Regions from separate parts of the Homo sapiens genome. Here region 1 is linked to region 2. The links are contacts of gene promoters, found by promoter capture Hi-C in blood cells and fetal thymus (Javierre and others, 2016). All regions are on one chromosome and are shown on one strand. The core of a region is centred on a gene start or on the middle of the fragment in contact, and the rest is flanking DNA. Distances in the headings are between cores, read along the strand shown. Region 1 overlaps RNF4 (ring finger protein 4). Region 2 holds the start of ADD1 (adducin 1).

Evidence for each region. The method cuts DNA at HindIII sites, captures the fragments that hold promoters and counts their contacts. A CHiCAGO score of 5 or more calls a contact.
Region 1: a fragment that was not itself captured here is called in contact with the fragment with the promoter of ADD1 in region 2 in 1 of 17 cell types (total B cells); the score reaches 5.8 in total B cells.

Annotation. Positions count from the first base shown.
Region 1 is chr4:2,494,891-2,497,609 of GRCh38, reverse strand. RNF4 (ring finger protein 4) reads right to left here. Exons shown (of 8, transcript NM_002938.5): 3 at 489-603. Among named protein-coding and RNA genes, the nearest start is that of RNF4, 27 kb to the right of the region's middle. The HindIII fragment of the contact is 184 bases long and covers 1,185-1,368 here.
Region 2 is chr4:2,842,518-2,845,408 of GRCh38, reverse strand. It overlaps ADD1 (adducin 1), which reads right to left and starts at 1,565. Exons shown (of 16, transcript NM_001354761.2): 1 at 1,385-1,565. RefSeq lists silencers at 1,104-1,253, 1,374-1,563, 1,624-2,003, 2,104-2,153 and an enhancer at 2,282-2,793. The HindIII fragment of the contact is 1,799 bases long and covers 461-2,259 here.

The sequences.
Region 1 (2,719 bases), core at 27-2,526, 350 kb after region 2:
TAGTTATAAAAACAATATATGCAGAGCAAAGGGACTTAGGCCAGCCATCAACCACTTCTTGAGCAGGCAGAAGGGGAAATCCAATCTGGCCTCTGCCTATACCAAGCTCCAACACAGGGAGCTCTGTGGACAAGTTTGCCTTCTTGGGTGATTTCATGTCCTAATGAAAAACAGAAGAGGAAAGCGAAGTACTTTACAAGGTCCAGCAATTGGGGATGCAGTTTCAGATAGAAAAGGTGGGCTATCTCATTTGCGCTAGATTTTTTTTTAAATGGATCCTACCCCACTGCTGCACATTACCAGAGTTGAACAGTTAGCCCAGTTGAGAAGCTATTTCAGAATCTGTGAAGCTTTGAGTTGTACATGGTGAGTGTGAGACTGCATAGGCCTTCTAAAGACACTGAAAGCACCTTCTACTAGCTCACCCTGGTACAGTGTTCTCTCTCCACTTTAACACCCCACAGTTGTAGTGTCCCTGGCAATCTTACCAGTTTCCACGAGTTCTATGGGTTCTGCTTCCAAGGAGATCTCGGGGGTGGAGGTTGCTTCCCGAGTTCGCTTCTGAGCTTGTCTAGAATTTATTGCTCCACCACGACGCTTTCTCTGAGTAGCAAGGGGGAAAGAAGAGTCACATGAACACCAGAATGTCAGGGTTTCAGGAAGAACTAAATGGGCAATAGAAATGGTTCACTTCATTAAGAAGCCAGCGAGTAGACTTGAAGTTAGGGCTCCTTTCAAAACTTGAGATTCAAGAATACTGAATGCTTACGGAGAGAGAAACCATCCAAAACATAAAATGAGTAGAAATTCCAGAAAGTAAAACTTCTGTTTTATCAAACTATCAGCAGGTCGGCTGGGCATGGTGGCTCACACCTGTAATCCCAGCACTTTCGGAGGCTGAGGTGGGCGAATCATGAGGTGAGGAGTTCAAGGTCAGCCTGGCCAACATGGTGAAGCCTCATCACTACTGAAAATACAAAAGTTAGCTGGGCGTGGTGGCAGGCACCTGTAATCCCAGCTACTCCAGAGGCTGAGGCAGGAGAATCACTTGAACCTGGGAGGCAGAGGTTGCAGTGAGGCGAGATCGCGTCACTGTACTCTAGCCCGGGTGACAGTGTGAGACTCCATCTCAAAAAAACTATCAGCAGGTCAAAAGGGACACGATGCATCCCTTTACAAAAGCTTGAGGCCAAGTCAGGATTTGGACTTGGTAGTGGATGCCCTGGCCAAAAGGCTGGAAACTCTTCCCTTTAACCAAAAGTTATCAATTTCTCTTCCTTGACTTTGTGTTCAGCCTTTCTGAGCCCTTTTTGTTTCTTAGCATAAAGAACTTGGAGTTTTCTGAGTTTCTATACATTGTGGAAAGCTTATCTTCCCCTGGGAAATGTGGCCTTGAACCTTTCAGGGCACTATCAACTGTGATTCACACCAGACAATCACTCCCCACAAAGAACTCAAAGAACCAAAGCTGTTTTAAGCCTGTTCCCAGTGGCTACCCAAGAGCCATGTCTTCCGGAAAGTTCAGGCTCTCAGCTGGTTGATAAGCAACTGACACTCTGACCAGCCTTTCTTCCAAATCCTTAGGCTGCTGGTTTGCCAATATGCTCCAGCATTTCTGGTCTGCCTGGTCCCAAAAGACAAGCTGAGAATATCCTCCACCTTAATCAAGAGACAGAGCTGGCCAGGCGCAGTGGCTCAGGCCTGTAATCCCAGCACTTTGGGAGGCAGAGGCAGGCGGATCACCAGAGGTCAGGAGTTCAAGATCAGCCTGGGCAACACGGTGAAACCCGTCTCTACTAAAAATACAAAATTAGCTGGGCGTGGTGGCACATGCCTGTAATCCCAGCTACTCGGGAGGCTGAGGCAGGAGAATCACTTGAACCTGGGAGGTGGAGGATGCGGTGAGCCGAGATTGTGCCATTGCACTCCAGCCTGGGCAACAAGAGTAAATCTCCATCTCACCCCCCCCCAAAAAAAAAAGAGCTTCCCAACAGAGCCTGTCACCTTGTATTCCCACTGGTGTTTCCGTGCTCTTCTCCCTGTGCCCTGTCCTGCTATCCTTTGCACTGGACAACCTGGGACAAGTACTGCACTACTAAGTCTCAAGTTCCTCACCAGTACCAGCCTTGCAGAGCTGTTATAAGGTCTAAATGAGATCATGTATGTAAAGTACTGCGCAGAGACGGAAGATGCTACTACTATCCCAATTCCTTAGCCTTACTAGGGTCAATCTGTCCCAGGAAACTCTGAAAGGACCAGATATTGCAGGAGAGATTCATACAAGATCCAGGAACACCCACCATCCAGCCAAGCCCTCGCTAGGCAACAGGGATAAGCCTGATTCTGTGTTCCAATGCTACTCTTATCAAATGGCAGCTTGAGATGTTTTGGAAATGAAGCTGGGTCTAGTAACTTCCCACGGACTAAGGAGCACAGAACCAGCCCCAGGAGGGCCCAGAGGCCAAGCGACAGCAGCCAAAACTCCCAAGTGAGCAGCTGCTCTTGGCCTCAAGGGAGCTGACACTAACCTCAGTGGAGTTCTACTGCCCAGTGTTTTAAGGGTTTCCCCAGCAGCCACCAGGTTGCTTATGTAAAAAGTAAAGTAGAGGTTCCTCTTCAAAGACTTTCCTCCCCATCTAATTAGAAATAAATAGTAACTTCTCTTAAAAGCAAAATTTATTCAAAGACCTGTACTAACATTCTTAAATATCTGCTAGCC
Region 2 (2,891 bases), core at 316-2,815:
CTGTCAAAATCAAAGGAGTATATTAAAATTTTAACGTAGGCCAGGCGCGGTGGCTCACGCCTGTAATCCCAGCACTTTTGGAGGCCTAGGCGGACGGATCACGAGGTCAAGAGACTGAGACCATCCTGGCCAACATGGTGAAACCCCGTCTCTACTAAAAATACAAAAATTAGCTGGGCGTGGTGGCGCGCGCCTGTAGTCCCAGCTACTCGGGAGGCTGAGGTAGGAGAATTGCTTGAACCTGGGAGGCGGAGATTGCAGTGACTGGAGATCGCGCCACTGTACTCCAGCCTGGCGACAGAGCGAGACTCCGTCTCAAAAAAAAAAGGTATCATCGCGGGCCTTTGTCCATTCAAGGCTCCAAAGTTTACAAACTCACTTTCATACAATTCACACCCTCTGCCTGAAATGCCCTCCTCTCTCTGGTGCCTGTTGAACTCCTACTCATCCACTCCAAGCTTGTTTTCACTAGGCGCCTCTACTCATAGACACAGTCGACCTATCAGCATTCTATTTCCTATCCCCATTAAGATCTCAGTCAATTTTTCACACAAAAAATCTTTCTTTAACTTACCAGTAATGCATACAGCTATCAGCTATGTCTTTGGTCTTTGGAGATATGACAATTGCTTTTTGTCTTTCTAAACATAAATTATGCTCAAACCAACAACAGTTTCAGGCGAACCAAAATACGTTTTTCAAGGTGGGTATGCATAAAGTGAATGCAAATTACCTCCCAACTATCTTGAGCCATTACAAGAGCAAAGATAAAAGTCATCCTAACAGGGAAAGGCCCTCTGACATCTCCCAAAAAACGAAAATAAAAGATTAAGAAAAAAGAAAAGAGAGGGAGGGCAAAGGTGACCAACAGCCCCATCGCTGATAAAGTTCCACGATTATCTCTCGAGCGTCCGTCGGCAGATATGGCTTTTCTCTTTTGGCAGAAGCCGTCGTTTTTAAATACGAGAGCCGACAGATGCGTCCGTACACAAACCTTGCAGCCACCAGCGCTGCGGACCGCGGAACCGGTCTCACAAGCAGGATGCTGACCAGCGTCCAGCCAGGGTCGTCCTCCTCCGCCCCCACCCCTGCAGCCCACAAGCCGGCCAGGAACGAGCGGCCCGGGAAAAGCCTAGTCCCCGGGGTCCTATCCCGATGAAAGATCTGCGGCGCCCTCGCTCCCCGGCTCGGCCCAGGCCGAAGGCCCCGCGGGGACCCCTCCAAGACGCCCTCGGCGCCGCAGCGGCCTCCCCGCCCCCGAGGCTGCCCGGGCCGCCGCAGGCCCCGCGGCCCCCGCCCGCCGCAACCGCGGCCCAGTTCCCCGCGCCCCCGCCGCCGCCTCAGCCCGAACCGGGCCCCCGCCGCCCCCGCTAGCTAGCCTCACCTCAGAAGCGAATCGTGGGCAGCGCGCGGGATTCCGGGGTCCCAGTGCGGCCACCGCCCGTCGGCTCCGGCTCCGGCTCCGCCCCCGTCCCCTGGCCCGCAGCAGCGGCCCGCCAGGCCTCTCCGCCCCTCAGCCCCTCCGCTCGCCCCCACCGCCCGACCTGGGTGCGGCCTGCGGCGCTGCAGCCCAACAACGCGCCGTCCCATAGGCCAAGCCGCGCAGCACTGCCGAGCAACGTACCCTGCGATTGGCGGGACCCATGAGGGGCGGGTCCCCTGCGGGCAGGGCGATTGGACTCGCCAGGCCCGCCTCGGGGCGACCCCGCCGGGGCCTGCGGAGGCCCAGGGTCCCGCGCGGAGTACACCCCGGCCGGCAGCTTCGGGCGCCAGGTCATGGCTTCACGGTGGCCAGGTAGACTGCGGCGAGCCCCTGCCGGGTCCGCTGGACACGGTTTCATTGTGATTGACCTCCGCCGGAGGGGCTGTCGGAGCCCAGGGACCCTGCCCTCCCGCCGCCGCCCAGCGCACTCCCCCAGCAGACGGGCCCTGCCCCGCGTAGCCCCGCCTTGTGCAGTCCCCAGGCCGAGTTTTGGGGCCCGGGTGGGGTCAAGGCAGCAGGGCCTGTGGGCCCCGATAAGGCTCCACAGAGGACAACTGCCTGGCCCCCGGGCCCGGCCTGCGGGTGCTGAGGAGACCAGCGAGCACCAGCCACCTCCGCACGACCAGGGAGTGAGCCTGCGGGGCTTTGGCAGGACCAGCCTCAGACCAGCACCTTCCCGCACACTGTCCCTCCTGCTGGCGCATCTGACACCCAAAAAAACAAGCAGCGAGACAAATGGGCACGGCTGCTTGTCCTCTTGACACCCATAGAAAGCTTAGGTCCAGAGCTGGGCAGTGGCAGAAGAGTGTGGAATCCAGACCTCCCTGCTCAGCAGGAGCCTCTGTGACATTGCCCCAACAAGGGTCAGGGATACTGTCTGGATGGAAGCCAGCGACCCCTGTTCTAACCATTTCTGTTGGACGTTGGCTTTTCCAAGACGATTTTTCTGACAAGATCACAATTCTGTCTCATTCACTTCTGCTTCCCATAGTTAATCACTAGGGAAACGCAAATCAAAACCACTGTGGGATACCACTTAACATTCATTAGGATGGCAGTTGAAGAAGCAGGGAGTTGGGCGCAGTGGCTTCAGCCTAAAATCCCAGCACTTAGGGAGGCAGAAACAGGAGGATAGCCTGAGCCCAGGAGTTGGCAGACTTGACTGGACAACATAAGGAGACCCTGTTCTCTACAAAAACGAGAAGAAAACAAAAAGTTTCAAGGGGGGAGAAGGAGGAAGAAGAGGAAAAAAAGAAAATAAGTGTTGGCAAAGATGCGGAGAAATTGGAACCCTTTGTGCATCGCTGACGGGAATGTAAAATGGTGTGGCTGCTGTGGAAAACCGTAGAGTGGTTCCTCAAAAAATTAAACATAATTACCACATAATCCAGCAATTCCACTTCTGGAT